5 separate regions of the Homo sapiens genome follow, and all the other regions are linked to region 4. Evidence: promoter capture Hi-C in 16 types of primary human blood cells and fetal thymus (Javierre and others, 2016). All regions are on one chromosome and are shown on one strand. Each heading gives the region's core, a stretch centred on a gene start or on the middle of the fragment in contact. The rest is flanking DNA. Distances are from core to core; before and after follow the strand shown. Region 1 overlaps POLR3F (RNA polymerase III subunit F). Region 2 has its middle 2.8 kb from the start of KAT14. Region 3 overlaps XRN2 (5'-3' exoribonuclease 2). Region 4 holds the start of NAA20 (N-alpha-acetyltransferase 20, NatB catalytic subunit). Region 5 holds the start of KIZ (kizuna centrosomal protein).

The links. The method cuts DNA at HindIII sites, captures the fragments that hold promoters and counts their contacts. A CHiCAGO score of 5 or more calls a contact.
Region 1: a fragment that was not itself captured here is called in contact with the fragment with the promoter of NAA20 in region 4 in 1 of 17 cell types (total CD4 T cells); the score reaches 5.7 in total CD4 T cells.
Region 2: a contact is called between a fragment that was not itself captured here and the fragment with the promoter of NAA20 in region 4, in 1 of 17 cell types (non-activated CD4 T cells). The highest score is 6.3, in non-activated CD4 T cells.
Region 3: a contact is called between a fragment that was not itself captured here and the fragment with the promoter of NAA20 in region 4, in 3 of 17 cell types (non-activated CD4 T cells, naive CD4 T cells and total CD8 T cells). The highest score is 5.9, in non-activated CD4 T cells.
Region 5: a fragment that was not itself captured here is called in contact with the fragment with the promoter of NAA20 in region 4 in 2 of 17 cell types (non-activated CD4 T cells and activated CD4 T cells); the score reaches 6.1 in non-activated CD4 T cells.

Annotation. Positions count from the first base shown.
Region 1 is chr20:18,473,472-18,478,445 of GRCh38, reverse strand. It overlaps POLR3F (RNA polymerase III subunit F), which reads right to left. Exons shown (of 9, transcript NM_006466.4): 5 at 3,259-3,371. Among named protein-coding and RNA genes, the nearest start is that of MIR3192, 5.3 kb to the right of the region's middle. The HindIII fragment of the contact is 2,714 bases long and covers 574-3,287 here.
Region 2 is chr20:18,132,838-18,137,358 of GRCh38, reverse strand. It overlaps a transcript of KAT14 not described here. Among named protein-coding and RNA genes, the nearest start is that of KAT14, 2.8 kb to the left of the region's middle. The HindIII fragment of the contact is 2,828 bases long and covers 1-2,664 here.
Region 3 is chr20:21,305,824-21,310,362 of GRCh38, reverse strand. All of the region lies in intron 1 of XRN2 (5'-3' exoribonuclease 2), which reads right to left. Among named protein-coding and RNA genes, the nearest start is that of XRN2, 4.8 kb to the right of the region's middle. The HindIII fragment of the contact is 4,700 bases long and covers 930-4,539 here.
Region 4 is chr20:20,013,954-20,019,087 of GRCh38, reverse strand. It overlaps NAA20 (N-alpha-acetyltransferase 20, NatB catalytic subunit), which reads right to left and starts at 1,726. Exons shown (of 6, transcript NM_016100.5): 1 at 1,639-1,726. The coding sequence starts at 1,691. RefSeq lists enhancers at 1-463, 925-1,425, 2,040-2,219 and silencers at 1,480-1,599, 1,650-1,719. The HindIII fragment of the contact is 8,583 bases long and covers 1-5,134 here.
Region 5 is chr20:21,122,977-21,127,991 of GRCh38, reverse strand. KIZ (kizuna centrosomal protein) reads right to left here and starts at 1,910. Exons shown (of 13, transcript NM_018474.6): 1 at 1,788-1,910. The coding sequence starts at 1,876. RefSeq lists enhancers at 1,392-1,441, 2,342-2,441 and a silencer at 1,602-2,181. The HindIII fragment of the contact is 481 bases long and covers 2,334-2,814 here.

The DNA of each region.
Region 1 (4,974 bases), core at 681-3,180, 1.5 Mb after region 4:
TCTAGGAGTTCAAGACAGGCCTGGGTAACATAGTAAAACCCTGTCTCTACAAAAATACAAAAATTAGCTGAGCATGGTGGCACGTGCCTATAGTCCCAGCTACTTGGAAGGCTGTGGTGGGAGGATGGCTTGAGCCCAGGAGGTTGATGCTGCAGTGAGCTGTGATTGTGCCACTGCACTCCAGTCTGGGTGACAGAGCCAGACCATGTCTCAAAAAAAAAAAAAAAGAAAAAAATTTGGCTAGACTTTGTCCCTTTTTCCTAGGAAATAACTTCTACATCTTTGGAATTTCCCAATAGGCCTTGTTATTCATGGTGAATCCCTTAGATCACACCTGGGTTTATGCTAACAAGGTGACTCCTGATAGGACTCTAAATAGTTTCAGGATAGGAGTTGTCCATGCTGGAAAGACCAACCGCATGATTAGAGGGTTGGGGCTTTGGGCCACATGACATCAGTCCAATCTCTTGGGAGAAGAGAGGAGCTGGAGATTGAATTCACTCACATGACCAAGGATTCAATCAATCATGCCTGTATAATGAAACCCTAATAAAAACTTTGGACAGCAAAGCTTGGGTGGGCTTCCAAATTTGGTTAATGCTTCTGTCATACAAAATAATTTCACCACCCTAGAAATATTTCTCATGCTTCACCTATTCAACTTTCCCTACCATCCCTGCCCTCACCCCGATCTTTTTAGTCTGTCTAGTTTTGCCTTTTCCAGTATGTCATATAGTTGTAATCATACAGTATGTAGCCTTTTCGGACTGGCTTCTTTTACTTAGCAATATGCATTTAAGATTTACTCATATCTTTTCATGATAGCTTATTTCTTTTTATAACTGAATACTATTCTGGTTTGTCTATCCATTCACCTATTGAAGGATACCTTGGTTGCTTCCAGTTTTTGATTATGAATAAAGCTGCTGATTACGAATAAAGCTGCTATAAATATTCATGTAGTTATGTGGACATGAGTTTTCAAATCAGTTGGGTAAATACTTAAGAGCTTGACCTTTGGACAATGTGGTAAGACTCTGTTTAGTTTTGTAAAAACTGCCCAGTTTTTTAACAAAAGGACTGAAAATTTTGCATTCTTAGCAATGTATGAGTGTTCATCTTGGTCTGTATCTTGTCAGCATATGGTATTACCAATTTTTAGATTTTAGCTATTCTAATAGGTGTGTAGTGGTATCTCACTATACTAAATTTTATTTTAATTTGCAGTTCTCTAATGAAAAATAATGTAGAGCATCTTTTCATATGCTTATCTGCCATCTGTATGTCTTCTTTGGTGAGGTTCAGATCTTTTGCTCATTTTTAGTTGGATTATTTGTTTTCATTGTGTGTTTTTTTTTTTTTTTCTTTTTTTGAGATGGAGTTTCGCTTTTGTTGCCCAGGCTGGAGTACAATGGTGCAATCTTGCTCACTGCAACCTCTGCCTCCTGGGTTCAAGCAATTCTCCTGCCTCAGCCTCCCAAGTAGCTGGGATTACAGACATGTGCCACCACGCCTGGATAATTTTGTATTTTTAGTAGAGACAGGGTTTCACCATGTTGGTGAGGCTAGACTTGAACTCCTGACCTCAGGTGATCCACCCGCCTTGGCCTCCCAAAGTGTTGTTTTCTTATTGCTGAATTTTAGGAGTTCTTTGTATATTTTGGAGACAAGTCCTTTATCAAATATGTGATTTGCAAATATCTTTTAGTATGTAACTTGTCTTTTCATTCTCTTAATGTGTCTTGCAAAGCAGAGGTTTTCAAAAAATTTTGATAAACTCCAACTTATTAACATTTTCTTTCATAGACTACTATTGGAGTTATAGTCCAAGAATTCATTAACAAAGCCAAGGTCATGTAGATTTTCTATGTTTTCTTCAAAAAGTTTTATAGTTTTGCACTTTACACTGAGATCTAAGATTATTTTAACCCTTAAAAGGACACAGAAGTTCACCAACGGATGAATGAACAAAAGGTGATATACATCTATACAATGGAATTTTAATTGGCAATAAGAAGGAATAAAGCACAATATGGATAAATCTTGAAAACATCATGCTAAGTCAAAGTAGTCATACATAAAAGACTACATATTCTATTATTCCATTTATAGGAACTGTCCAGAATAGGCAAATCTATAATAAAGGCAGAAAATAAATTATTCGTTTTTAGGGCCTATGGAAAGAGAGGCTGGGAAACAAATACTAGTGGCCACATTTGGGGGTGATGAAAATGTTCTAAAATTAGAACAGCGGTGATGGTTGCACAACTCTTAGCTTATAGTAAAAACCAGTGACTGTAAATCCAAAGATTTTACACTTTAAAAGGTTGAATGAATTCTGTAGTATGAATGATGAATTATATTTCAGCAGAGCTGTTATTAAACATAAAGATGTAGAAGGAGGACTGACAAAATGAGGCTACATGATAGGGTTTTATTATATGATTTTTTCTACCTTTGTATATATTTGAAATTATCCATTAAACAATGTGGAAGGGAAATGCTATTCTGATAAATAAAATCACTAATAAGCATCAAATTCTTATAAGTGATGTTATAATTCTTATAATTCTTGTTTTATTCAAAAATAAAAACTTGAAGCAACATATGTAAGCGGATATTTGAGGAAAGGTCTACTCACTGCCACAGACCTAACAGCTCTGAAATTATAAAATTTGAATTATAGCTGTAATTCTTATGAAATGTGTATTGAAGCAAACTTTATTCTAGGGGAATCTCAGTTCCTCTGATGTCTAAATCAGTGAGGTCAGGGGCAGATGTCCCCGAGGGAGCCAGCTCTGGAGCAGGGGTGGGGCAGGATGAGGAGCAGGAAAAACACACGTGTACTAGAAGAGAAGCTCCACCAAGGCAGGGATCTTTCTACGACTTGTTCATTAATGTATCCCAAGCACTCAAAACAGTGTCTGGCACACAGCAAACACTCTTTGTTGAATGAGAAAGCTAATATGTCGGGATAAAGTAAATTATCTTACACACCACAAAATCTAGGAAAAATGTTCACAGTTCCAAAGATTCTTCACTGAAGACAGTAAAGTAGTTTTAGATTTTTGAGTGGGTGAGTGAGACACCAAGAGCTAACTGTGTAGGGACAAGTCTAAGCAGCATCTCCAAACCAATCCAACATGAGCTAAATTTTTAAGTCTTTTTTGACCAGCTGTTCTAAATCATGACATAACTTCAAGAATAAAAACTTGAAGCAACATATGTAAGTGGGTATCTGAGGAAAGGACTACTCACTGCTACAGACTTAACAGCTTTGATAAGCTTTTTACTTTCCAGATTCTTCAGAATTTTGTTGATTTCTGTTAATGGCAAATTACTTTTATAGCGGATATCTCTGCTCCATATTCCTATAAGAAAGTAAAGTAAAATAAGTTGAACTCTGGTTTTCATGGATTTTTAATGTTATTCCTCTAACTTGTGTCTCATTCCAAAGCTAGCAGTATAAAGCTAACAGTAAAGAATGCTGGCTAAAGTAGCAAAAGTATGCTAAACAATAAATAAGTATAATGCTTTGTAAGACTTATTATAATGATTTATAATTTCTAACTAGAAATTTCTTGGAATCCCAGTGTGGCAAACTTTTAAAAAACTTATGGAAAGGGCTGGGCATGGTGGCTCATGCCTGTAATCCCAGCACTTAGGGAGGCCGAGGCAGGTGGGTCACCTGAGCTCAGGAGTTTGAGACCAGCCTGGCCAACATGGTGAAACTCTGTCCCTACTAAAAATACAAAAATAATTAGCCGGGCCTGATGGCATGCACCTGTAGTCCTAGCTACTCGGGAGGCTGAGGCATGAGACTCGTTTGAACCCGGGAGGCGGAGGTTGCACTGAGCCGAGATCACACCATTGCACTCCAGCCTGGGCAACAGAGCAAGACTCCATCTCAAAAAAAAGAAAAAAAAAATTATGAAAACGACGTTTTTATAATGGAAGGAAAAATCATGGATGCAATGGAATTTTATCATCTGTACCCTTATCTCTGTTTTCTGATACTTTCATTTTAGATTGTAAATGTGAAATACAAACTTAAATTTGGGTCAAGGTCAACTGCCATCCTCAAGTGGGACAAAAACACTCTTTAGATGAGTGTCTGCATGCATGTAATCCATTATTTATACAACATTGTATTTGTGAGATGGAAAAGGAAGCCTAGGGTTCTTATGGCTGCTAAAAGCCCTGTGTGAGAAGCAATGATTTCTTTTTCAAAGAAGGAAATAAGTGTTATATATGGAAAGGGAATGTATGTAAATATTTTGCTTTATTTTCTTCCCAATGTAATGGCATATGAGATAGGAAGATTAAAAAAATATGCAGAATGGCTTTCTCATAGGACTATTTTTAAAAATGTTAATTTTAATAAATATAAGAATTAGTTATGTAATTTCAGATTACATCTCAATTTTTCCAGCTAATATCAATGACTCAAATAGATCCCAAATTATTGTAACTTAGGATTGCAATTTAGATACAGTTCTTCAAGCGGGTAGAAGAGAAACTATAGCTGCGGAGGGACATCTGTTAAGACACTGCTACACCACACCAGCTTTCCTTTTGGTCCTTGCAAAAACGAGAGGTGTCAGCATCCACAATTTATAGATAAGATAAAGAAACTGAAGCTCACAAAGTTTAAGTAACTTGTCCATGGTCATATAGCTAGAAGGTACAGATTTAAAAAAAAAACTTAAATTTTATTTATTTTGAATAGATAATACATTCATGTGACTCAGAATTCAGACGTCTTTTTCCATCCCTGGACACAGCCCTTTAGTTCTTGTCTCTTTCAAGGCAACAACGGCCTTACTCTTGGGTGTCCTTCAAGCACATGCATGTTATATTTGTATGTTCTATTACCTTCCTCAGTATACTCTGTCCACTGAGTTCTACCCTGGGAAGCTGAGATCTGGGTCCCTATATCTAGTTCCAAAGACAATGTTTTTTTCTGCTTCATCT
Region 2 (4,521 bases), core at 1-2,500, 1.9 Mb after region 4:
TGGTTTCACCTTGACGCTGTGGGGCGACTGGTCAGGCTCGGATTATTATTATTATTATTATTATAATTTTGATACAGAGTCTCTGTCTATCGCCCAGGCTGGAGTGCAGTGGCGCGATCTCGGCTCACTGCAACCTTACCGGATTCAAGCGATTCTCCTGCCTCAGCCTCCCGAGAGGATTACAGGCGTGAGCCACCGCGCCTGGCCCCATGTAATCTTTGTGATCACTTTTACACCCAAGTTTCCGCGCCAGTAATACAAGGGAAATAAATGATATAAAGAAGTCTTGCGTTGGGAATAGTTAAGCAATTGTGCAAGACGCATTTTCACTTCTTCCTCGGGTAAAAAAGGCAAGGCCTCCCAGAAACTTTTAAGTATCTGATAGAGCAACCAGTGAAAACGTGTTCATCATTCAATCATTCTTTCCCACTAGAATTCACAGAGAACGAGCTTCTTCCGGTGGACACGGCTATAGGCAGTATTGATTAAGCCTCACCAGGGAGTTTTACAACATTCATTACTGTTCATAGTGCTTTGCTATTCCAGTCTCTTATGTGAGCGTAAATGGCATAAGGGGACTATTGCTCTTAAAGGTATCTTTAAAGATACCTTTTCCAAATGTCATTTTGTCCACAGCATTTTTTGCAGCCTAGAGAGAATGTACCACTGAATTGGAAAATGGAGTTCTTGCTGTAATGAACTTTGAGAAGAAATTCAGTTCAGGGTGTATTTGCATATTTCTCTTTAAAAATTATATTAGACTTCTTTTTATTCGTGGTATATCCTAGATATTTTCCCCTGTAAATCAGTGAGCCTTCAACAGAGCTGTATGTCCTTAGAGTGTACATCAGGGAATTAGATCAATCGCCTTTCATTTTATTGTGACTAATTTTTCAACTTGTTTTCTTGAAATGTACTCTTTTCTTTATTTTCAGGATACTAGAAGCAAAAAAAAAAGTATTCTACTTTTAAGAAATCATTTATTATTAACTGTGTCAAATAAAAAAGTGGGTTGGGGGACTGAGGGAGGTCTTGCAAAAAAAAAAAAGTATGTTTATCTGTTTAAATATTTATAAGCCTAAGCAGTATATTTTCCGTGATTATTGTCGCATAAATTACTGATTTGTGAGAGTGACTGCATATCATCAAACTGAGAAGCAACTATTTTTTTCTTTTTCTTTTCTTTTCTTCTTTTTAATTGAGACAGGGTCTCACTCCGTCGCCCAGGCTGGAGTGCTGTGGGGTGATCTCACTGCAACCTTTGCCTCCCAGATTCAAGCGATTCTTGTATCTCAGCCTCTGGAGTAGTTGGGGTTACAGGCCTGAGCCACCAGGCTGCACTAATTTTTGTATTTTTAGTAGAGATGGGGTTTCACCATGTTGGCTAGGCTGATCTAGAACTCTAGTACTGGGTGCTGGTACTGGGTGTTTGTGAAAATTGGTCCAGTGGCACACCAAGGCTGTGTGGTCACACATACATGCATGATACACTTCTATACAAAATCTTACATAACTATACGAACAGAAAAAAAATGGCTCTTTTTTGTTTCTTTTATTGTCTTTATTTCCTTTTGATTTTTTATTGTGTGTTTTTTTCTTTTTTTTCCCATTGGTTCATAGCCGATGGCTTTACATTTTATCATCACTTCTTGTATCAAATAGCTTTTTGGCTGGGAACGGTGGTTCATGCCTGTATTCCAGGCACTTTGGGAGGCCAAGGCAGGTGGATCACTTGAGGTCAGGAGTTCGAGAACAGCCTGGCCAATATGGTGAAACCCCGTCTCTACTGAAAATACAAAAATTCGCCAAATGTGGCAGCGCATGCCTGTAATCCCAGCTACTTGGGAGGCTGAGGCAGGAGAATTGCTTGAACCCGAGAGGCAGAGGTTGCAGTGAGCCACTGCACTCCAGCCTCGGTGACAGAGTGAGACTTCAACTCAAAAAAAAAAAAAAAAAAGTTTTTTCTCCATGGTAACTATCAAAAATTAAAGAGATGATCATTTAAAAAGATTTTGATCAGCCAGGCGTGGTGGCTCACACCTTTAATCCTAGCACTTTGGGAGGCCAAGGAGGGTGGATCACTTGAGGTCAGGGATTCGAGACCAGCCTGGCCAACATGATGAAACCCCGTCTCTACTAAAAATACAAAAATTAGCCAGGTGTGGTGGTGGGTGCCTGTAATCCCAGCTACTTGGGAGACTGAGGCAAGAGAATCACTTGAGCCCGGGAGGTGGAGGTTGCAGTGAGCCGAGATCAAACCACTGCACTCCAGCCTGGGTGACAGAGTGAGACTCCATCTCAAAAAAAAAAAAAAAAAAAAAAAATCTTGATCAAGAACTATGTGCAGGAGCAATGATCAGGAACTATTTTTAACACAAAACTTGATATTTAAAAGAGACTCCAAGAAGAATGTTATCAGGAAATTTTACCCAAAGTTGATATTTAAATCTACCCCAAGATTTGCTTTTATTTTTCTTCTCATAATTATATGTCATTTATTTTTTTGTTTTTCTTTTTCTTTTTTATAAGAGTACCATATAAAGGAAATGTAAATAATTATTATCCATGAAGCTCCTTTTAGAATTATCCAAGCTCACGCAAGTTGATCCCAGTGAGTTGTACAGATATCCTTATTTTTTATGTTTACCAAGGTGGGACGAAGCTTAGGAAGCATGGCTGATTTAATACAATTTGCTTGTAAGGCCAGAACATCTGAACCTTGTGTATCTGGCTATATTCTAGTGTCTCGGCATCCTAAGATCACATCAGTTCCTGCCCCTCTCAGCTTTGGATTGACTTAGGTGTGCCCAGAATGGCCACTGCTTTCCTGGAGAGGACAGTGGGTGCCTTGCCCTGCCATTGGCTGGCCTTCAGAGTGAACTTACCTCCAAAGACAAAAATAGGAAGCTGACCACCTTAAAAACCGCTCAGTGGCTCCCCATGCCTACAGGATAAAGTCCCATACTCTTTAGAACAGCATACTACCCTGTCCTTCCCTTCAGAATCCTCTAAGCAAGAGGCAGCATCAAAAAAGAAGTACAGTTGGAAGTCAGGGCTTGGAGAAGAATCAACAAATGAAAACTAAGGGGAGGGAATGCAGTCATTTTCCTGTGTTTGAACAACATGGTCACACAATCTTTGTTCCACCTTCACTCACACAAGGGTGGGGACTTGAAAAAAATGCCTTCCTCACTGAGTGTGTAATTTGGCTTATGTTATTTGGGCTTGAATCATGGCCAGGTCCTGGCAGCTATCCTGGGAGAGCTGGGTTTCGGGTCACTTCTGTCTTAAAGAATAGTAAATCACTAGTACCCTAGCAGGAGGTATCAGTAGGAGGCACGGGTTTAAACTGGGCTTGATGGTGGGCATGAATGCAATAGGTCAAGGCAGAGGCTTCAGGCAATGATCAGAAGCTTGTCATCATTGGGGCTGAGAGAGAAGGAGGAGGTGGGAAGGAGGAGGTTTGTTTGGGAAGAAGGTGGAGGGTGTCAGCTGAACTGGCACCAGTGACTGATAAATTTATCAGTCTCAGCACTAAATGATTACAGAAACATCACACCACATGGCACCGCATAAAGCACCATTATGACTATTTTAAATGCAAGCAAGAAGGCTTGCCTTGTGTATGGCCCTGTAGTGGGCTCTATAGGCAGACAAGGCCACGAAATCCCACCTTCTTCAGGCTGAGGCTCTGAAGTCAGCACATAAGGAAAAAGTCAAAAACAGTTAAAACTACCCTTGAAAACATTTTAGGAAGGTGACATGTTGAAGAAAATAGATATTTTCTCAGGAACTCCAAAACAGCCAGTTTTTCTTCTGGTACTGGAATTAATCACCATGAATTCAATGCAGTATCTATATAAGTAATCTGAAATTCTGCACAGGTTTGTCTCTTCTCTCCCATTTAGTAACTGATTCAATCATTTGTTTCTATCAGTGTGGACTGGTGGGTATTTATTTTATACTTTGGGTTATAATCCAATATTACTTTATTTTGTTGCTCAGATGGCTCCCGCTTTGGCCGTTGGGAGATCTTTCAGCTCCTCTGCTTCTCTGACGGACCCTCATCAATGTGTGTTTTTCTTGTTTAGCACTTGTCTATTTTCTGACACTGCACAATATTCTGAGCTAATCTTGTATATTTCCTGCCCAAGTCTCAGAATCTGCCATTTCTCCAAGAATCCAAGGTTCTTTTTATTGTAGAATAATATTGGAATCCAAGATATAGGTCCTGGCATGCTTATTGCTACTGGGGCTTTGTTTCTTTTGGGCCCTCTCAGCTGACAAAGCACATAAATATATGTGTGTATACTTATCTGTGTATGTTACATATCTGCAAATATTTCTATATGTAATCACCTGAATCTATATTGACTAAAATGTGAGATATTGCTGATGTCTGCAACTCTAGTCCATTACCAGATGGATTATTCTAACCTCCTTTTTTTATTGGTAAATTCCTACTCCATCAGTGAGAATTCAGGCTCCCATTTTCCACCATCCACTTGCGCAATTGTTTGA
Region 3 (4,539 bases), core at 2,030-4,529, 1.3 Mb before region 4:
AAAACATTTATAGAGACCATATTCTGAACCAGTCTGATAAACTTCAACAGACCTCAAATTAAATATGATCTCTGATAAGGGAATTAAATTAAAAATCACGAACAGGAAAAAATACCTGGAAAATCTCCCATGTGTGTGAAAATTAAGTCACACTCTTAAATAACCAGCGGGCCAAAGGGAGTTTTAGAACATATTTTTAAGTGGATGAAAATGAAAATACAACATGTTAATATTTGTGGCACACTGTTTAAACAATATCTAGAAGGCAATTTATGGCACTCAAGATCTATATCAGAGAGGAAGAAATGTCTCAAAACAATGACCTCAGCTTCTACCTTAATAAACAAGGAAGAGAAAAAACAAGTTAAACCCAAAGTAAGCATAACAAATACATATAAGAGCAGAATCAAAGAAATAGAAAACAGAAAAACAATAAAGAAAATCAATGAAACCAAAAGCTAGTTATCTGAGAACAGTGTAGCCAGACTGATAATGGGACAAAACAAAGAAAGTAGAATTACAAGTATCAGGAATGAAAGAGGTAACATCACTACAGATTCTAACAATATTAAAAGGATAATAACAAGTTAACAGGAAGAAAAAAGAAAACAAAAGAGAAGTAAAAACAGGAGTGAAAACATTTTAATAACAAAAAAAAAAGGATAGTAAGAAAATACTATGAACAACTTTATGTCAGCCAATTCAACTACTTAGATCAGGGGTGTCCAATCTTTTGGCTTCCCTGGGCCACTTTGGAAGAAGAATTGTCTTGGGCCACTAATACTAACGACAGCTGATGAGCTGAAAAAAAAAGAAAAGGTCTGTGCATAAATCTCATGATGTTTTAAGAAAGTTTACGAATTTGTGCTGGGCCGCATTCAAAGCATCCTGGGTTGCATGCAGCTTGCAGGCCACAGGTTGGACAAGCTTGACTTAGATGAAATGGGCAAAATCTGTGAAAGATACAAACTAAAAAAGCTCATCCAAAAAATAAATAAATAAATAAATAGGTAACCTCAATAGTTCTAGATCAACTAAAGAAACTTAATTTGCAGCTTAAAGCCTTCCCACAAAACTCCAAGTCCAGATGGCCTCACTGGTAAATTCTATCAAACATTTTAGGAAGAAACAATACTAACTCTACACAAACTCTTCCAAAAAACTGAAGGAACTCAATTTGAGGTCAACATTATTCTGACATCTCAACTACACATTACAAGAATGCTACAAATATCTTTTGTGAACAGAGACACAATTCTCAAGAATTCTCAAGAAAACTTTAGCAAACTTTAGCAAACTTGAATTCAACGTATATAAAAATAATACAACATGATCAAGTGAGGTTTATCCAAGGAATGCAAGGTGGCTTTAGCATTTAAAGACCGATAATTCACCATATGACTAGACCAAAAAATGGAAACCACAGAATGAAGTAAAACTATAAAACTTCTCTAAGAAAACACAGGAGACCTTGGCTTTGACAAAGGATTCCTTAAATACAAAAAGCAGAAATATAAAGGGAAAAAATTAATCAGACTTCATTAAAATTTTTAAATGTTTGCTCCCAAGACACTGTTAAGAAGTAAAAAGACAAGCCACAGATCAAGAGAAAATATTTGCAAAAGATATATCAAACTAAGGATTTCTATCTAGAATATGTAACAAACTCTACATTTAAGTAAGACAACCGAAGATAAAAATGAGCAAAAGATCTGAACAGATGCCTCACCCTGCCCGTGATGATATACAGAAAGCAAATAAGCATCTGAAGGAAATGCAAGTTAAAACCACAATAAGGTAACAGTACACTGGACTACCTAAAACTAAAAGGGCTAACTATATCAAGTGTTGGTGAGGAAGTTGAGCAACTGGAACCCTGATATGCTGCTGATGCCAATGTAAAATGGCACAACCAGTTTGAAAAAAAAAGTCTGGCAGGTTTTTCTTTTTAAGTAATCACACACCTAATATACAATCCAACCATTTCACTCCTAATGTTTTTCCCCCAAACAAATGCAAGCATACGTCCCTACAATGACTTGTACAGAGATGTTCATAGGTTTCTTTTTCAGAAAGCCAAAAACTGGAAACAATCCCAATGTTCATCAATCATCTGAATAAATAAATAAAATGTGGTGTATCTACACACAGAATACTATCCAAAAATTAAAAGACGAGGCAGGCAGATACTTGAGGTCAGGAGTTCAAGACCAGCCTGGCCAACATGGTGAAACTCCATCTCTACTAAAAATACAAAAATTAGCCGGGTGTGGTGGCATGTGCCTGTAATCCCAGCTGCTTGGGAGGCTGAGGCAGGAGAATTGCTTGAACCCAGAAGGTGGAGGTTGCAGTGAGCCGAGATCGCACCACTGCACTCCAGCCTGGGCGACAGAGCGAGACTCCATCTCAAAAAAAAATAAAAACAAAAAAGAAATAAACTACTGACACATACAACAACGGAAGAATTTCAAAATAAGTATACTGAATGAAAGTAACTGAGGCAAAAAATGAGTATATACTATATAATCTCATTTATAAAAAATTATAGAAAATGAAAACTTATCATACGGTCAGAAAGCAAACCAGTCAGTGGTTGGCAAAAGACAGGTGGCAGGGAGGGATAGTAGAAAGGAACTACAAAAGGGCAGAAGGAATGTTTTAGAGGTCACGTTCACTGTCTTGGTTGTGCTGGTTTCACAGATGTATGCACTGTATTAAATTATATACTTTAAGCCCAGGACTTTGAGGCTGCAGTGAGCCATGATTGCACACTACATTCCAGCCTGGTGACAGAGCAAGACCTCAACTCGAAAAAAGTTAAAAGAAAATTGTACACTTTAATTACCTGCAGTTTATTCTATGTCAAGTATACCTCAACAAAGCTGCAAAAACACCAAAGGTTGGGGGAGGTTTCAAGGAAAGCCAGAGAATGAGAGAGAAAATAAAAATAAAAATACATGAGTCTAAGAGGACCAGTATCCTGAGTCTGGAAAGGGAAGAAAAAAAGGTCAAGAAATCATCAAACAGCATTCCCTAAAACCGAAGAACGTAAGACTCCAGACTCAAAGAGTGAGCCACGTACTGATCAAAATGAATCTGAATTTAAAATAACATCTATACCTGGGTACCTAATAATGAAAGTTTACACTATCAAGAAAAAGATCTTTTTAAAATCTAGGAAGGAAAACTGATCACAAAAGAATGAAAGCATATGAGCATAAAAATTAAGTCCTTCTGGTTTCCACACTAGCTCTGACATTTATCAGCTGAGTGACCTTGGGTATGATACGCGACCCTGCTGTGTTTCCATTTTCTCATCTGAAATAATAATAAACATAACAATAATCATTATTTTTCTGAGATGGAGTCTCGCTCTGTCACCAGGCTGGAGTGCAGTGGCGGGATCTCGGCTCACTGCAATGTCTGTCTCCCGGGTGCAAGTGATTCTCCTGCCTCAGCCTCCCAAGTAGCTGGGACTACAGGCGCGCCACCATGCGCAGCTAATTTTTGTATTTTTAGTAGAGATGGGGTTTCACCATGTTAGCCAGGATGGTCTGGATCTCTTGACCTCGTGATCCACCCACCTCAGCCTCCCAAAGTGCTGGGATTACAGTCGTGAGCCACCGCACCCGGCCAATAAACATAGTAATTATTATAACATAATAACAATATTGGTTGTCTCCAAATAACGTGCTTCTATTATTTGTATGTAATAAAAATAATTACAACAGTAGAAGTCATGTGGTTGTGAGGATCAAACAAGTTATAATAAAGTTCTTAAAACAATGGTAAATGCTATATAACTGCTGGTTAAATAAATACATCACATTAACACCGAACTTGTCATCAACACTACTAGATGAGAGAGTACAAAAGAACAATTTCTTTCAAAGTTCTGAGGGAACCTAATATTAAAACTGGAATTCCTGGCCAGGTGCGGTGGCTCATGCCTGTAATCCCAGCACTTTGGGAGGCAGGGGCTGGTGGATCACCTGAGGTCAGGAGTTCAAGATCAGCTTGGCCAACATGGTGAAACTCCGTCTCTACTAAAACTACAAAAATTAGCCGGGCGTGGTGGCGCGCCTGTAGTCCCAGCTACTCGGGAGGCTGAGGCAGGAGAACGGCTTGAACCCGGGAAGTGGAGGCTGCAGTGAGCCGATATCACACCACTGCACTCCTGCCTGGGTGACAGAGCTAGACTCCGTCTCAAAGAAGAAGAAAAAAAAAACACCTCGAATTCCATGCCTAGCTAATGATCATTCACGTGTATAAGGGTAGAATGGAGCTATTTTGGGTCCTACAATGACTCGGAAATCTCACATCCCACACAGCATTTCTTAAGAATTAAGAATAAGGAGGCCAAGGCAGGCGGATCAGAAGGTCAGGAGATCGAGACCATCCTGGCTAACACGGTGAAACCCCGTCTCTACTAAAAGTACAAAAAAATTAGCCAGGCGTGGTGGCGGGCGCCTGTAGTCCCAGCTACTTAGGAGGCTGAGGCAGGAGAATGGCGTGAACCCCGAAGGCGGAGCTTGCAGT
Region 4 (5,134 bases), core at 477-2,976:
ATAGAAAGGACTATGGGATGAGATGGCTGGGAACACTTTAAAGAGAGGGTGAGCCTCTCCAGAGGCTCCAGGTGGGTTAAGACCCACTCCAGAGCAGTGGATCGCAAACGGAATGTGCGTTTCTAACATGGTCCCCTGACCACAGGCACCAAGTCTTTCAGAACCACTGCTCCAGAGCCAATATCCTTGGATGAAGTTCCTCGCTTTACTCATTCTCACCTGGGCCAATTCACTTGTGCTTGCCATGCCTTGGTTTACTCATACACAAAATGGGGGTGACAGCACCTCAAAGAATCGTGAGGATTAACTGGATTATTACGTGGGCACTCAGAACAATGCAGGGAACAGTGAGTTCAACACAAGTCACCGTAGCTACCAGACTGGCCCAACAGAAAATTCTTTCCACAGGATCAAGTCTAAACCCCTCCTGTTTCACCCATTTCTTCCTGACTGCTCAGTGGCAGAAACCAGCCACTAGATTCGCACTGATCCCAGTTGTCTGACCGCACTTCAAGTTTCCCCATTTTCATGCCCCGCTCCTTCTCCGGAACTTCCGTCTTCCTCACTTACCAATGTGTTATCCATCTTCAAGGCTCACCCCCTCTTTGAAATGTTCCCAGCCATCTTATCCCATAGTTCTTTCCATCTTCCTGACACTTGAATCGGAACCACTTTGTCCTTAGTTTTCACATACCGCCCTGTTGTTTTTTTAAAGTGGATCCAGGACTGATAGATGGGAAGGAAGGAGAGATACCAGCGTAGCAAAATGTTAACTGCAGAATCCAGGAAAAGTGTCTATAAAAGCACATGGTGAAATTCCTCCAACTTTTCTAAATGTGTGGGAATCTTCATAATAAAATGTTTTCTTAAAAAAAAAAAATTGGTACCTGCAAATCAGAGGTCTGGCCTTAACTCGAATCCAAAGAAACTGCATCCAGGGCTCTGGGCACAGCGAGCCTCCCCTAAGATCTGCCGTGACTCCTCACAGAGGAAAGGTGTGTACACCGGGGTGCGCAGCTACAGTAACTAAACTTGCAAACACTAACCATGACTGAGACAGCATCTGCTGCAGGGGACGCAGTGATCAGTGTCATTTCATTTGGATACAATTTAACCACGGCCACCAGGTGGGCTTCACGATGTACACATCCCAACAGCTGCTGACCAGCTTCCGATCCTCGCAAGCCCCCTCTGCGGCCTGGCCGTCGGCGGTGCCCTCTGCCCAGAAGAGGCGCGGCCCGGCCACGAACCAGCAAGCAGTAGGGCAGGGCGAGAAGCCCAGGTCGTGGGCTCCAGGCCGCGTCTCCAGCTCGCCCCATCACCCCAGCGCCTCCTGACAGCGACCACGAGCGGAGGCCCGAGCGCTGCCCCAGAACCTGCCAGCTCGCAGGGTCCAGAGACAAAGTTTGAGCACCTCGGCCAAGGTCGCCAAGGCCGGCGTGCGTCGACTCCAGGCCCACCTCTCCCTGGACCCTGTGGCCCCAGGGAGGCGCCCACGTTGGCCGGCGGGGGGTGGTTCTCGCGGGTCCCCGTCCGGGCTTGGGGTCCGGCCGGGAAGGCGCGGCTGGGGCCGGAGCTGGCGGGGCCGGGAAGCGAGGCCCGGCCAAGAGCGGCTGGCCCTAGGCGCGTGTCACTCACATGTTGTTGAAGCGGAACAGGTCGTCGCAGGTAAAGGCCCGTAGCGTGGTCATCGCGCCGCCGCCGCTTCCGAAGACCGTTCGCCAAGACCCCGCGCCCGCCCTGCCGGAAGTCTCCCGGAGCGTGGCCGCCGCGGAACCGAGCGAGACGGGGTACTGCTTCCGGGCTACGAGTTGCTGGGCAACGACAGCAGCAAAGCAGCTTCCTCTGGCGGCCGGCGGCGGGAATTGCCAGGTCGCTCCTGTAAGGCCTCCGGGGCTGTGGCTGCCCAGAACCTCGGAACCCCTCCCAGGCAGCGGCTGCAGAAAGCAGGCGGCGACACCTGGGAAGGAAAGAAGCTGCTGGTGATGCGGAAACCCAAGCAGAAGAGCGGAGTTCGCAGCCACCCGGTGCTGCAGAGTAAATGAGGAATGGGAGAATTTATGACCCAGAATCCCTTGTCCCAGTGTTGCGAGTTGCAGATGTCATCTTAAAATGTCAATACCACGTTTAAAAACAAAAAGAAGGCCGGGCGCGGTGGCTCACGCCTGTAATCCCAACACTGGGAGGCCAAGGCGGGCAGATCACTTGAGTTCAGCAGTTCGAGACCAACCTGGCCAACATGGCGAAACCCCCTCTCTACTAAAAAAAAAAAAAAAAGGAAAGAAATAAAAATTAGCTGGGCGTGGTGGCACGCGCCTCTAATCCCAGCTACTTGGAGGCTGAGGCAGGAGAATCGCTTGAACCCAGGAGGCGGAGGTTGCAGTGAGCCGAGATCTCGCCACTGCACTCCAGCCTGGGCGACAGAGCTAGACTTGGTCTCAAAAATAAATAATAAATAAATAAAAGCAAAACGAAATGTAAAATTGATTTTGATAGTACGCTTTATTTTACCCATTTATTTTTCCTATTTGGGAAAAATATTTTTCCCTGACCCCACTTTATTATACCCGAAATATCATTTCAACATGTAACCAATCAATACTCAACATGTAATCAATCAATAAAAAAAGGAATGTGATATGTTACATTCTTTTTTGCAAAGACTTTGAAATCCGGTGTGTATTTTACATTTGCAGTGCATTTCAATCTGAGAGAGCAGCTGTCATCGGAAATGCTTGTTCTCTATTTAGATTTCATCAATGTATGGTTAAAAAGCAGATTCTCATATCCAAGCGGTTCCAAATATACTGTTTTCAAATCGCTGAACCAAACATCAGTTTTTAAATTTAAAGTAGTTAAAATTAAAAGTTAAAAATTCCTTTATTCAGACCAGACACAGTGGCTCACACCTGTAATCCCAGCTACTTGGGAGGCTGAGGTGGGAGGATCATTTGAGCCCGGGAGGTAGAGGTTGCTCTGAGACATGATTGCACCACTGCACTCCAGCCTGGGTGACACACCAAGACCCTGTCTCAAAAAGATAAGATAAAGAGAGATAAAATACATAAAGCAAGCAGGAATGCTGAAATGTATTTACACATGAGTGTTAAACTGGTCAATATCCACAGAGCTGTAATCACTGTCTCTCCTGGGCACTGTATAACACTATGCATTTGTATTTTATGGACAAGAAAAATTTTCATTACTATCAATTTTCCTCAGCTTACAAATTTGTAAAATTTTGTATTGTCAAAGACAATAAAAAGCAGAGAAAACCTGGAAACGTGTACTAAACAGTAATCTTTTTCTGGCCATTTCAAAGTGTTTCATAATTTTTTGTGTGTGACATGAACTAATGTTGATTTGAATTTTGTTCCTTATGAAGTAGTGAAGGTTTTTATAATATTTTTGGCTCTGATTCATTGGTATTATAAACATTAGAAGTTTATAGCTACTTTATGTTTGTATCTAGGTAATGGTGGAATAAACATGATTTTGATTTTTAGAAAAAAACACTGTGGGTTTAACACAAAGGTAGCATTGGAACCCTGCAGAAACTGGATGCTGTAGGCCAGCAGTTTGCAAGCACCGATACGAATTATTATTCCGATTTTGAGGCACAGATCAGAAATATCCTATAGCTACGTGGCCATTCCAACACATGGGGTCAGGGGAACGTGCAGGGCAGTACAGAGAATATCCTGGATATTCACCAGCTGGTTCTCCCTTCTCTCCTGTTTGTCTACTTATTTTTAAACTGTTATCAGTTTCCATTGCTGATTGCCTCCTATGAATTAGCATCTCGAAGGGTGGCCAGTAAGTGCCTAGCAAATATTGATTAAATAGCTGAGTGAAAAAGTGGCACACAGGTTACCCAGAAGATAATGTCATCCTTGGTAGTTTACAAAGAGGGTATTCACATTCTCAACAAAGGTATTTCACCTCTCTTTGCCTCAGTTTCTGTAAAAGGTGCATAATCATAGCACCTACTTCATTGGATTATTATGAAGATTACATGAGTTAATATTTGTAAAGCAGTTATAACAGTGCTTGCCACATTTTAAGTGCCATATAAGTGTTTGTTAAGAAAAATAATGAAATTAAGTATCTTGCATTTTGAAGGATCAGAATCTGGAGATGTAGAGTTAGGAGAGGCACAGCCCTCAATCATAGACCTTAGCACAAATGGCTCTGGAGGGGTGATGTTTGCTCATAGTCCCCGATGAGCAGCTTAGAGGAGATGGGTGGGGCTTTGGAAGCCGCCTCCCTTTCCTCTTATTGTCTTGCTTCAACCAGAAAAGTCTACATGTTGACACACTTGTTTTATGGGTTTTAAAAATACCTTTTAGGGCTATTTACATTCTTAAAGACTTTTTAATAAAAAGGATATATGCACATTATTAAGAAATCAAAGACTTGTGGAAATGTACAAAGAATAAAGCAACAAATCATTGAAAATTTTGCCACCTGGGAATAAACCATGTTAACTCTCAGATAATTTCAGTCATCTCTCTATGTAGATTAAGGGGAGTGAGAAAGAGACTTTTACTTAAAAGGGATTCTAATTATATATGTTAATAGATTATGAAGTATAAGGTATTACTGTACTTGACTTTTTTCTTGAATTTAACAGAAGAAAAACAAATCAAATGAAAATGAAAGAGTGCCAGGCGCGGTGAGTCACGCCTGTAATCCCAGCACTTTGGGAGGCCGAGGCAGGTGGTTCACCTGAGTTCAGGAGTTTGAGACCAGCCTGGCCAACACGGTGAAACCCCATCTCTACTAAAAATACAAAAATTAGCCGGGCGTGGTGGTGGGCACCTGTAATCTCAGCTACTCGGAAGGCTGAGGCAGAAGAATCGCTTGAACCCAGGAGGCAGAGGTTGCAGTTTGCTGAGATTGCACCACTGCACTCCAGCCTGGGCGACAGAGGGAGACTCCATGTCAATAAATAAATAAATAAATAAATAGGCTGGGCGCGGTGGCTCACACCTGTAATCCCAATGCTTTGGGAGGCCGAGGCGGGTGGATCATAAGGTCAGGAGTTTGAGACCAGCCTGGCCAACATGGTGAAATCCCATCTCTACTAAAAATACAAAAAAAATTTAGCCAGGCATGGTGGCGGGCGCCTGTA
Region 5 (5,015 bases), core at 1,325-3,824, 1.1 Mb before region 4:
CTCAAATTGGATACAGACAATAATATTCTTTACACATTGCTTTGCAAAACTACAGCTTTCAGCTTTTTTTTCTTTTTTTACTTTAAGGCCCATTATTCTAGCAAAGAGAGAAAGAAAAAAATCTGTGGCCTTACTTTGCATATTAGTCAAGCCCCCTCATTCCTGGTAAAGAACCAAGGTTCAGAGAGGTGGAACAACCTGCTCAAGGTCACACAATTGTTCGTGGACTAGAATCCAGGTTTTGATATTTCTACTGCAGCCTTTTCTGTATCTAGAATTATTTGCCTCTATAACTGTGTCCAGTGTGCATTAATTTGAGTTAGTTATAAATTCTTAAAATGAAAAATGAACACACACAGCAACAGATTTGTACTGACTTAAAAATAAAACAAATCTCGAAATGCAGAACCGTGAACAGGCTATAAAATTTGATTCACATTCCTTATATATTTTCAACAGCCTCACCTTGTTTAATAATTAAATAAGTGTTAATCATAAAGTACATAATTATTATACAGTTATTGTGCCATAAGGACTATAAACAGCCAGGTGTTCCTAGCACAGGAAACAAAAATAACTTACAATTAATAGTTCAAAAAGAATGCCATTTATGAGTGCTGTAAGAATGCCAAGAGTCACAAAAGTTAGGGAATGGGTTGAAACAGGGAAGGCTCTACAGGAAGAGATTTCTTTTTAAAGTCAGAAATTAAGAGGTCACTGATATGGGTGAGCGGTGACATGTCAGAAAGAAAATAGGACGTAGAAAAGGAGTACAAGGTAAAAAAAATGCTAACGACAATTAAGGAAGCCTGTTGTAGATGCTCTATAAATATCTGACAAGAATTAAATCTAGCGTAAGATAAATGTAATTCCTTTTCAAAATCGCTCACTTCTGCCTTTATTTTCCATGTAATTATTGTTATCATTTTAGCACTGTCACGCACACAGCTCTCCTGTTCACTAGAATGATTTTGTAACTTTTAACACTCATTAAATGTTTTGTTTATCAAGAGATCCAAAAATGTATTTCCTTTCTTGTCAACTAATGAGAGTTACAACTCCAATTAACTTAGCAGCTAAATAAGAGGTCCAGCAATTTATCTTTTACGTGGTTATTCATAGTACATTGCGGTATAATTTTCTCTCTATATGCACTCTTAGATCTAGCTGTTTTCAGTGGTTCCCATCTTTCATATCTTAATCAAAGGCATCATGAACCCTCTGGAAGCTGGACTTCTCTAGCTGGAAATTTCATCCCTTCGCTGGAAATCTAGCCAGCCCTCGCTACCCCTAAAAGTCTCCTGAGTTTAAACGGGGGCACATGTTTGACACACACACACACAACCGTCTGCGTTCCAGGACTTGTCATCATTGATGCAGTGCAGCTGTCACGGCGGGATGGCAATTTGAAGAGAGTGGGGAGGGGGCGTGTAAAAGGGGACAAGAGAAACTCACAAGGCTTGATGGAGAGTGACAGGCAGAAGAACTCCCACCTTCACTTCTGGGCAAATTCTGTGACGCGGCCGCATCCTCAAACCGTAGACCAGGCTTTAGCTGCTATTGACGGGGCGGGGGCGGTCTCTCACCTCTCTCCGCTCCCACCCCCAATACAGGGGGTGGCTCTAGTAAACACTGTCCTCCAGGCCCCACTGGGAGCCTGGGGGGCGTTGCGCGCGGGCCTGGGCCCCGGGGAACCTCGGACGGGGGAGCGGGAAGGAAAATGGGGCAGGGCACGCGGAAGACCCCCGGCGCGGGCCGACTCCCCACCCCCGCCCCAGTGCCCTTACCTGTCCCGCAGCCCGTGCTGGAGTTGGCCCAGCCTCTCGTAGTAGTCGGGACTCGACAGGGGCACGGCCGATGCGAGGGTCCGGCTCATGCTGCTGCCGCTGCGCCAGCTCAGCACAGCCTCTGGGTGGCCGTTCGGCCGGGGTTGCCGAAGGAGACCGCCCCACCATGCACCGCGGGTAAACACCGCGCCGGGCCGCCTGCAGGAGGCGGGGCAAGACGCCGTGGGGGCGGGGCGCCGCTGAGGGACGGGGCGGAAGCCGGCTTTGTGGGGGGCGGGACGAAGACCTGCATGGGGCGGGGAAGAGGCGTGGCAGAGGCGGGGCGTCGTGAGGCCGGGGCGGACCACGTCGGAGGGGCGGGCGCTCGGTGCCCTCTCCTCTCTCCCTTGACGCGGTGTCTCCTTTCCCCTCACCTTCCAGGATTCGCACAAGCTACGTTAATGTTACAAGGCGCATTCCCTCCCTTTCTTTCGTCTCTCGCTTGCTTCTTTTCCTCGATCTCCTTTCTTGCCAGGATTTGTTGAGTGCCAGGCACTGTACTAAGCTTGTTCTATTATATCAGCACTCAAAAGCGACACAAAACACCAAGTAAAAAAAGACAAACCCTCAAATGCTAAACAGCCGTGCTCAGCCCCGACAGTGGACCAACCCCTTACTCGAAAATCCGTGCTGAATCTAAGGATTGTTCCAGGTGCCAGTATCGTTGGCGAGAGGGAAAAGTTGATAACTAGTTGCTTGGGAAGCAGACGTTTGTGCAGACAGCTCTAAGGGACAATGCTCCTAATGTCCTGTAGGATCCTCTAGCAGGAGCCCGGGAGCCAGACTGCCTGGGTGTACATTCCCTATCCACGTCCCAGCTGCCAAGCCGTGTGCAAGTCACCCCAGGTTTCCTCATATGTAAAGTGGGAGGCTGTTAACACAGGATTAGTTTAGGATTCGATTGTTAATATGTGTTAGTGTTTATAAGTGGGCCCAGCACATAGAAAGCATCAGGTTTTATTATCATCACCAACGTCGGGAAAAAGCTTCCTGAAGGAAGCCAACCATATTTCAAAACCCACTGGGCAGAAAAATTAAGCCTTAGCCTGCTTCTCTGCCTTCCTTTCCTTTTTTTTTTTTTTTTTTTTGAGACAGAGTCTCACTCTGTTGCCCAGGCTGGAGTGCAGTGGCGTGATCTCGGCTCACTGCAAGCTCTGCCTCCCGGGTTCAAAAGATTCTCGTGCCTCAGCCTCCTGAATAACTGGGATTACAGGTGTGCGCTACCACACCCAGATAATTTTTGTTTTTTTTGGTATTTTTTATATTTTAAGGAGAGACGGGGTTTCACCATGTTGGCCAGGCTGGTCTTGAACTCCCAACCTCAGGTGATCCACCCACCTTGGCCTCCCAAAGTGTTAGGATTACTTGCATGAGCCACCATGCCCGGCCTGTAGAGTTTCTTTAGTCTCTTATTGTTCACTTCTTTTGGTTTCTTTCCTATGCCATTAATTTTACTTACACATACAAGGTGCAAGGTGTGACAAACTAAAATTGTAAGAGAGATGGAACACTCAAAGGCCAACAACACAAAACTATGATTTTACTCAGCCTTCCATTCACATTTGCCAGTTCCAGGGCAAGAGTGTGAATGGAGGCCCTCATACCATCCGCCTAAATATTGAATTATAATTCAAGATAACAAACTTAGGTAAAATACGTGTTCTCCTCTCCACTTTGACCAATATGCCTTCTTAAGAACCTGGACAACCAGGGTGGAATTTAGTTTGCCTGCTTCTCCAGCTCCCCCCAACTCCATTTCCCACCCCAGGCTCAGTCTTGCTTTGTGAGGGGGTCTCATACACTAGCAGGGATGTGTGTGCCCTGCCTCTTCTCCTCCTCTTCTCCAGCCAGCAAGTCCCAACTCTGCCTACATCCCCACCTCAGCCTCCTCTTGGCCGGGCAGTGAGCATGCCAGTGATGGTCACCCTTGCAGGAAAGACCCAGCCAAGAGGCCTTTTAAAGCCTTAGAAAGCAGCTTGGGCCCCTTTGAGCAGGGAAGGTAAGGGTGTTGGGTACTTAGAACGTGTTCTAGAAGAGCATGTGTGTGTATGTGTGTGAGCACCCCAGGTGGGCCTGTCATCTGGCCCTGGGACCTCCTTGCCTTGCGTGGAGCAGCATGGGCAGAGAAGGGCTAGAACAGAACCTCTAATACACAGAAGCCAGGGCAGAGGCCTTCTTGCCCTGGTCCAAGGGTAGCACTGATGTGACTTTTATTTAGTTTTTATTCAGATTATATCCAATTGATTCAGTGGTAATGTGCAAAGGTTTATTTTAATGAGTTTAGTGTAACTAACATTTTACTACAACCCTGGCAAAGAAAAGAAAAGCATTAAATTTTTAGGATATTTTATTTAGGACCATGCCCCCAGGGTTAGTTTTTTTTTTTAAGAAAAAGAATCCCCAAACAATTAATATAACTAATTTTAGCAAGTAGCACAGAGTAAGCAGATGAGGCAGTCATTTAGCACCCAAAATTTTTATTAGGCCATTTTAGGAGAATCTAAAATTAAATGTAATTAAACAGTAAATAGATAATTCAAAATAATTATAATTTACATCCTATGGTTGATTCATTAATGACGTATGACAAATCTAGATGTAGGATCTCCTTTATTAACAATAACACATAGCAAACAAAAGGAATATTTCTAGAGTATTTATGCTAAAATTATGCATTTTAAATGGTGACAGGCTTTCAATAAATTCTGAGTTCTTCACTTTGAATATTTAATTTGCCAGAGCCCTCTATTTTAATATTTTTCTTCAAACTCTTTATTTAGCTGAGCTGATTTCTGTAAGCAGCCCTGCTTTTAGCTCACTGGACCAAGGGTCATCAAGTCTGCCTAGATCAAGGCTTCCTCTAAGTCCTAGAATGTCTTAGCTAGAACTTAGAGGGAGTCTAGCCCCACCCCCTTGTTTTACAGGGGAAAAAGGGTTCAGGGCAGATAAGGGGCTTGGCCAAAGTCACCTAGCTGGAAATCTATGTAATATTAACGAGTCTAGTTCAAAATATGGATCCCTAGTGGTCCCATTAAGCAAACAGCAAGGGAAGCCAGTGTCTCGGCCCAGAAGTCACATGAATCTTTGGGTGAACCAAATGAAATTGTTGTTTTTGTAGCTCAAAAACAAAATTGATTCTGGAAAATATATTGAAATTAGAATTGTACATATATTCTAATATTGGGAAAT